Regions from separate parts of the Homo sapiens genome. Here regions 1 and 3 are each linked to region 2. The links are contacts of gene promoters, found by promoter capture Hi-C in blood cells and fetal thymus (Javierre and others, 2016). All regions are on one chromosome and are shown on one strand. Each heading gives the region's core, a stretch centred on a gene start or on the middle of the fragment in contact. The rest is flanking DNA. Distances are from core to core; before and after follow the strand shown.

Evidence for each region. Contacts are between HindIII fragments. The CHiCAGO score rates a contact against its expected background, and 5 or more counts as called.
Region 1: a contact is called between a fragment that was not itself captured here and the fragment with the promoter of MED31 in region 2, in 1 of 17 cell types (fetal thymus). The highest score is 5.7, in fetal thymus.
Region 3: a contact is called between a fragment that was not itself captured here and the fragment with the promoter of MED31 in region 2, in 1 of 17 cell types (erythroblasts). The highest score is 5.8, in erythroblasts.

The regions. Positions count from the first base shown.
Region 1 is chr17:7,037,110-7,039,809 of GRCh38, forward strand. It overlaps SLC16A13 (solute carrier family 16 member 13), which reads left to right. Exons shown (of 4, transcript NM_201566.3): 3 at 1,043-1,780; 4 at 2,654-2,700. Among named protein-coding and RNA genes, the nearest start is that of SLC16A13, 2.4 kb to the left of the region's middle. The HindIII fragment of the contact is 1,491 bases long and covers 705-2,195 here.
Region 2 is chr17:6,650,233-6,652,932 of GRCh38, forward strand. MED31 (mediator complex subunit 31) reads right to left here and starts at 1,373. Exons shown (of 4, transcript NM_016060.3): 1 at 1,269-1,373; 2 at 124-201. The coding sequence starts at 1,296. C17orf100 (chromosome 17 open reading frame 100) reads left to right here and starts at 1,530. Exons shown (of 1, transcript NM_001105520.2): 1 at 1,530-2,700. The coding sequence starts at 1,682. The coding sequence ends at 2,038. RefSeq lists enhancers at 788-847, 938-1,017, 1,088-1,217 and silencers at 1,468-1,547, 1,848-1,897. The HindIII fragment of the contact is 11,591 bases long and covers 1-2,700 here.
Region 3 is chr17:6,912,194-6,914,893 of GRCh38, forward strand. No RefSeq gene overlaps it. Among named protein-coding and RNA genes, the nearest start is that of TEKT1, 82 kb to the left of the region's middle. RefSeq lists an enhancer at 2,102-2,671. The HindIII fragment of the contact is 1,566 bases long and covers 562-2,127 here.

The DNA.
Region 1 (2,700 bases), core at 200-2,699, 390 kb after region 2:
GGGAAGCCGAGGCGGGTGGATCACGAGGTCAGGAGTTTGAGACCAGCCTGGCCAACATGGTGAAACCCCGTCTCTACAAAAATACAAAAATTAGCCGGGCCTGGTGGCGCTAATCCCAGTTACTCGGGAGGCTGAGGCAGGAGAATCGCTTGAACCCGGGAGGCGGAGGTTGCAGTGAGCCAAGATCGCACCACTGCACTCCAGCCTGGGCGACAGAGCAAGATTCTGTCTCAAAAAAAAAAAAAAAAAAGATGAAACCAAGTATACAAGCCCAGAAGCCCAGGGCTAATGGGACTGGAGTGTAAAAGGAAGAATTACTATAAAATGGTGCTAGGGGCCAGGCACGGTGGCTCACGCCTGTAATCCCAGCACTTTGGGAGGCCGAGGCGGGCGGATCACGAGGTCAGGAGATCAAGACCATCCTGGCTAACACGGTGAAATCACGTCTCTACTAAAAACACAAAAAATTAGCTGGGCGTGGTGGCAGGTGACTGTAGTCCCAGCTACTCGGGAGGCTGAGGCAGGAGAATGGTGTGAACCCGGGAAGCAGAGCTTGCAGTGAGCCGAGATTGCACCACTGCACTCCAGCCTGGGCGACAGAGCGAGACTCCGTCTCAAAAAAAAAAAAGAAAAAAAAAGGTGCTAGGTACTGTGACTGTGAAATCGATATCATTATTGGATTTACAGCTGGGGAAAAGCTTTAAAGCTTATACAACTTGGCAAATGAAGGTCACACAGCTAGAAATGGTAGAGCCCAGGTCTAACTCCAAAGTTCTGTGCTAGTTACCTTACAAACTTTGTCTCTAATCTTCCACAATCCCAAAAAGTGTATTATTACATTTTGCAGTTGAGAAGGTTGAGGCTGGGGGTGTTAAGTAAAACACACAAGGTTACACAGCTATGAAGTATCCAAGCCAAGATTGTATCCCAGGTCTGTGGGACTCCGAAGCAAGTGCTACATTCTGCTGCTGGGCAATGCGGGGATTACTGTGTGCCTTGAGCTCCCTAAGAGTTCTCAACACCACTTCTTCCTTTTTGACAGGCTCTGGCTGGGCTTTGACCTTCGCTCCGACCCTGGCCTGCCTGTCCTGTTATTTCTCTCGCCGACGATCCCTGGCCACCGGGCTGGCACTGACAGGCGTGGGCCTCTCCTCCTTCACATTTGCCCCCTTTTTCCAGTGGCTGCTCAGCCACTACGCCTGGAGGGGGTCCCTGCTGCTGGTGTCTGCCCTCTCCCTCCACCTAGTGGCCTGTGGTGCTCTCCTCCGCCCACCCTCCCTGGCTGAGGACCCTGCTGTGGGTGGTCCCAGGGCCCAACTCACCTCTCTCCTCCATCATGGCCCCTTCCTCCGTTACACTGTTGCCCTCACCCTGATCAACACTGGCTACTTCATTCCCTACCTCCACCTGGTGGCCCATCTCCAGGACCTGGATTGGGACCCACTACCTGCTGCCTTCCTACTCTCAGTTGTTGCTATTTCTGACCTCGTGGGGCGTGTGGTCTCCGGATGGCTGGGAGATGCAGTCCCAGGGCCTGTGACACGACTCCTGATGCTCTGGACCACCTTGACTGGGGTGTCACTAGCCCTGTTCCCTGTAGCTCAGGCTCCCACAGCCCTGGTGGCTCTGGCTGTGGCCTACGGCTTCACATCAGGGGCTCTGGCCCCACTGGCCTTCTCCGTGCTGCCTGAACTAATAGGGACTAGAAGGATTTACTGTGGCCTGGGACTGTTGCAGATGATAGAGAGCATCGGGGGGCTGCTGGGGCCTCCTCTCTCAGGTAAGTGGAATGGGGTTCCCAGGGGGTGAGGGCTGCCATGTTGCACAACTAGGGGAGGGTACTATTCTCATTACAGTGTATGTGAATATTGCCCTCTGGTGTAGTACAGTACACAGCCTGCGTGGCCAACCATAGCATCCCTGAAATGGGTCCATGGGGCAAAGAACTTGGGGCTGGGAAAGTCTGAGTGGAAAGACAAAAAGAAGCTAAGTGGAACCCTTGGCAGGGTGCCTACGGCTTGGGTTTGCAGAGGACCTGGCAGAACCTGGCCAGACACAGACGTAGCATTCCAGTGTGCACCCTTTCCTTTGGCCTACTGGGCCCCAAACCAGGTATCTGAGGCACCTGGTCAAAGTTCTGCTGGCTCAGGGTGCCAGAACTTTCAGACCTTTATCTCCTCTTACCCATTAACTGAAGCTTTAGAAAGGCCACAGTTGGTGGGCGCCTGTAGTCCCAGCTACTCAGGAGGCTGAGGCAGGAGAATGGCATGAACCCGGGAGGCGGAGCTTGCAGTGAGCTGAGATCGCGCCACTGCACTTCAGCCTGGGCGACAGAGCGAGACTCCGTCTCAAAAAAAAAAAAAAAAGAAAGGCCACAGTTGCCAGAAAGAAAGGCACAAGTATGCCTGACTCAATCTGGATCTCCAAATCCCTGCAGGCTGGTTTGGAGGTCCTTTCTGAAGGCGGGGAGGTGGTTGAAATTAACTTTTGAGGCCCTTTTGGGAAACCAGAGTTCTTAAGTTTATCCAACTATTCCATGGGAGTTCCAACTCCTCTGAGATGATAAGTCTTCCCTCCACCCAAAAATGTATCTGAGCCCTCAGCCCCAGCAAATAGATCACTCATGTGTATTCTTTTTCTCTCTTGGACCTAGGCTACCTCCGGGATGTGACAGGCAACTACACGGCTTCTTTTGTGGTG
Region 2 (2,700 bases), core at 123-2,622:
ACCAGCATAAGTGTAATGTCATTCAACTGAGAATGTGTAAAAGTAGATACTATTTTGAACTGCAACTCTTCTGTCAGAAATCATTAATAGCTACTCAATTTAATGAGGTGCTTAACAACTTACAATTAAGGTAATTTGGGTTGGCTAAACATTGCACAAATTCCAACTCCAACTGAAACCGAAGTCGATTTCCAGCATCATCTAGGAGACAAGACAGCAAAAATCATGGAAAACAAAGGTCACTGTATATAATACTGATTTGTAGTAAGGAAAGAGCAATAAAGAAACCTGACTAATGTTGAGATGGTCTTCCTAAACTAGGAGTGGGAGGAGATAAACCTTCCTTCGAAATCTAAGAAAAGCGGAGCCCTGATTAAAAGGAGTAAGTTAGAAGTTTCTCTAAAGTTAAAGAGAAATCATCAAAGAAAACAGCAACACAAACGGAGAATTCCTACCACTCGTGGGCCACTATGTAGGAATTTTAACAGTGATCACTAAGGTAGGCTGTAATAACTGTGGCTTCCCCTATTTTAATAATGCGTTGTAACAACTGTTAACAGTGATTAAGTTTCGCAAACGCTAGGGGCTGAATCAGTAAAGAAAAACTTAGGATGCAAGAGACTGCGGAGAGCCTAAAAGATCATGCAGCGCATGCATATAAGAAGCACCAGGGTCAGGAGATCGAGACCATCCTGGCTAACACAGTGAAACCCCGTCTCTACTAAAAATACAAAAAAAATTAGCCGGGAGCGGTGGCGGGCTCCTGTAGTCCCAGCTACTTGAGAGGCTGAGGCAGGAGAATGGCGTGAACCCAGGAGGCGGAGCTTGCAGTGAGCCGAGATCGCGCCACTGCACCCCAGCCTGGGCGACAGAGCCAGACGCTGTCTCAAAAAAAAAAAAAAAAAGAAGCACCAGTAGCAGAATGATACACAAGTCTGGCGACGATATTTCAAACTTAGGCAAGCTCATGTGAGAAGCAGAAAACCAATCAAGGAGGACACGGTTTAACACACAAGTCCTCTCCCTTAGTCTCACCCACGCCAGGGAGCTGGTGGGGTGGTGTCTGAATAGCAAAGATGTGCGAACAAACCAAATCAGGAAAACTGCAAAGAGTACCTTAGTCTTTCTAGACGCTACAAGAGCCTTCTCTCCTCTCTGTCCAAATATTAACCCTGCCAAGAGTAAGGCCTGGAAGGAGGCCACGGGGAAGAGGTCTGGGTCAAGGAGAGTTCCATCTGCGAAGACTCCAAGATCAGAGAGCTACTCACCTGTCTCCATAGCGACAGCAGCGGCCATAACAAACGAAGACACCAAAACGCCACCAGCCTGACAGAGCAAAAGCCCAGAGACGCGGGCGAAGTTCCGGAAACCACGGCTCCCTCTTCCGGTCCCGGGGCACTGTGGGATATGGGGCGGGGCGGCTCCGCCCATCCCCGACCAGCCCTGGGATGGCTCCACCCGCGCTGGCTCCAAAATAGCGAGGGGGCGGGGCCCGGGCCGTGGGAGCGCCTGAGGGGCAGGAGTCCAGTGTTTTAGCCTTCGAAGGACCATGGTGCTTCCACGTCATCGTGTTGTGGCGCTCCCGGCTATGGCAGTACCGTAGTTTTCCTCTCTTCTGCCTGCGGTGACCATTGGGCTGTAGGGTGCCCCGAGGCCTCCCTGGCCCCCTCACGCCGGCAGAATGGCCTCAGCCCGAGGGGCCAAGCAGTCTTCGCCCCGGGTGGGGACCACCCGCTACACAGAGACGTCCACGGTCCGCGTGGAGACCTCGTCCCACCGCGTGGAGACGTCGTCCCGGCGGGTGGAGACCTCCCAGCGCCGCAGCGAGGGGCCCTCCCTCTCCCCCTCGGGGAAGCGGCTCCCTCGCATCCTCGAGGCGTCCTCCCGGCACGTGGAATCCTCCTCGCAGCGCACGGAAACGACCTCCCGCCACGTCAGAGCCTCGTCCCTGAGGGTGGAGACGTCTCTGCACTGCGCGGAGAGCCCGACCCCGCGGGCCAAGCCGGCCGCCCGCCAGAACGAAAAAACGGCCCGATGAGATGCTGCTTCCCAAAGGCCACCAAGGGGCCAGGGCCCTCAGCCAGGACAGAAAGGCCTCCAGTTGCCAGCCAGCCAGCCAGCTGCCAGGTGGACCAATCATTTTCGGTTTCATGGAAACAAACCATAAATCAATGTAAGAAACAGCCAAGCCGCAGTTTCTGAACACAGCCAACGTTTACTGACCGTCCTGCGTCTTGGACCAGCCTACTTTTGACCCAGTGAACTATTTTCACTTGAAGCCAGCACAGAAGGTTTTCAGGCCCAGGATGCTGTCTAAATCGGGTTGATGGACAAAGAGAGGCTGTTTGAGCCTCTGAGCCAGGTGAGTTTGGGATCCACAGCCCTCAGAAAACCTTCACCCCTTAGGAACAGAGACCAAACTGAAATAATGACCTGTGGAATGATTCCATGCCTGCTAAAAACTCGAGGGACAAGGAACAGACTCATAAATTATTAATTGGCCTTTGTTTATGTTTCAAAGTAAATGGTCGTTTTCTTTATGCTAAGTCTTTGTACCTGGCACCCCCATCCATACACTTTTTTAAGGTAGGTTAGATGTGGTTAAAAATGACAGTAAACCCACCAGCAAGCAAAAATAATCTTAGAAAGTGAGAGGAGGTCACTGAAACCTGGCCTGAGGTTTGAAGAAGATGGAGAAGA
Region 3 (2,700 bases), core at 95-2,594, 260 kb after region 2:
AAAGATCACCTACAAAGGAACCAGAATTAGCACAACAACAAAACTCCCAACAACAACGGAAGCCAGAAAATAACAGAATCAGGTCTTCGGTGTATTGAAAAAAATTATTGGTCAACCAAGAAATGTGAACTCAGCAGAACTCTAAAAAAAATGGTTTCAATCATTTTTTAATGAGAAAATTTACTTCTAAAGAAAGACCTGCCTCACAAAAACTTTTGGTAATGTGCTCAGAAAGAAAAGGAAAAATAATACTATAAAAGTTATCTGAGATGCCAAGAACGTGGTAATATGTAAAGAAACCAAAAGCAACAGTGTCAGGTTGAAACAAGCATGCTTTATAATTTGTAGTATTTTTTTAAAGGCAGATATGCTGGTTCCTCTCTGCCACTGAATGTAACAATGAAGACCTGGGCAGAATGCGTGAAGCAGCAGTATCACGGGGGTTGGAGTGAAAGCAGAAGGAAAACTAGTAATCAGCTTACTAGATTTTCCCTGCAGAACTCCTAGACTGACTTCAAGGCAGCCTAAAACCTAGAGGTGCAAGTCAGCATGGACAGATCAAGCTTTAGGGAAAGCCCTCAGTTCTGGGATAAGGGAGTGATAAAGGGGTCTCCTGGAAATGACAACAGCAGCGGGGGCCGATAAGCACGTGCAGTCTGAAGAAGGGGAATCTTCCTCTCCAATCAGAAGAAGTGTGGTCCCAAGAGCGCGGGGAACACCTCCGTGGATTTTTTTTCCTCTCTCTTTCCTCTTATCACTTGACCCCGAATGAGGGCACAGATGCAAGAAGTGTACAGCAAGGTAGGCTAAATTAGGCCCTAAATTTCTGGCTGAAGGACCAAAAAGGAAAATGCCAGGAAACTGAAAAGCACAGAGGAGATCACAGGGAGAGAGGAGCTCAGGAAGGAAACCCCAAAATATTGTTTATAAGCTCAGGGGCTCATTCCTAAACTGCACAAACAGAGATTAGATCACGGACCAAACTACTAAAGACTGAGAGCTGAATTCAGAGATAGGGTCCCATCCAGGTTCCTAACTGGGTGGCACATGCATGGGCTAGATCCAAATAGCATTGCAAAGGCCTGGAAAACAGAACTAGAATTGAAACCACCGCGGAAGACTCATTCGAACTCGTGGGCTGAACTCAACCAGGTCAATGCTTCAGAAAAATACCAGCATTCTCCACAGGACATAAACAAGATTGTCTCATAACATACCATTCAAAATATTAGGATACAATCCAAAATTGCTCATCATAAGAAGACAGGAAAATCTCAGTTCACATGGGAAGAGACATAGATGACTATGAAGAGAAGTTATAAAATACTCCAAGTCGGGGCAAACACTGTTGAAAAGGTAGAAGACCTCAGGAACTAAATAGAAAAATATAAAGGAGAACCAAATGAACATTTCAGAACTGAAAAATGCAATAAGGTTTTTTAACTGTTTCTGTCAAGATGGCGGATGAGAGGCATTGCTGGCACGCCTCTCCCACGTGGAAGGACAAAATAGTGTAGAGACATTCACTTTGTGAACTTTTTTCAAGAGGCGATGCAGTCATTGAACAGGAAAACCCAGGGACGCTTTGAAGGACGCAGGAGGCTGCAGTCTACACTGTGAGTCAGGTGAAGGACTGTGAGTCCCAGAGTGTGAGAGGGGAAGAGTTTTTGCCTCTGGGATACACACCCCCACCAGGGACCCTGAAAGTACAGGACACGGAGGAAGGCCCTAACCCCACCCAGCAAAGGGACCAACTCGGGGAGGGTGGCGGAATATAAAAATAGGAGCAGTGGCAGAAGACACTTGCGTGCACTCCCAAATCCCAACACAGGAGGGCAGCCGTTCCTTACTGTTCCTCACAGGGGACCCCCGTGGAGGACAGGCAAAAAGTTTAGACGGCGGTCGCAGGTTGAACGAAGCTCCCGAGGGGTTTCATGATATATATACATAACCTTGGGTGGGGACCAACTCCCTTGGCCAGGGCCAGGCGTGGGAGAGTGAAAAGTGGGCTGCGAGTGCAGGGGGCCGTGAGTGCGGAAGCCGCGGGTGCAGGAACCTCGGGTGCCGGCTTTGCAGGACAGGGAAGGGTGTGGCGTGAAAACCACAATTGCGATCTCCCGTGGGGAAAGCTTATAACTGTGGCAAGTTCCGATTACAGACTGGCTGGAATTCAGCTCGCCGCTGCCAGTGGAAGCTGTGGTAGTAGATCTGCCTCACTGAGTGCATGGGAATTGGGGGCTCACCGCTGCCTGCTACTCCCCACTCTGCACAAACTCTTCTGCGCAGCGGGGGCAGAAGAACATCAACCCAGTGGCCTGAGACCCACTCCATCCCCCAACATTCACAGGAGCTGCTGCTTGCCCTGCACACGGAGAATCAGAGCACAAACCTGACCGACGCAGCCCCCATCTCGCTTTGCCCCGCCACTTGCCCTGGTAGCTTAACACAAAGGACAGAATCTCTTGAGAGCTCTGTGGCCCTGACTATTGCCTGTGAAACCAGAGTATTCCTCCCTCCACGCCCCCACCACCACGCCCCTCCCCCCCCCCCCCCCCCACACACCCACCTACCGCAGCCGGTGTTCATTTGCAAGCACCACCTCCTGGCTGGAGGCCAACCAGCACAGTCCATTACAGCATCTCCTGGTAGAATAACATTGCACCCAGGAAGAAGGAGGCTCTATGATCTCAGCTATTACCA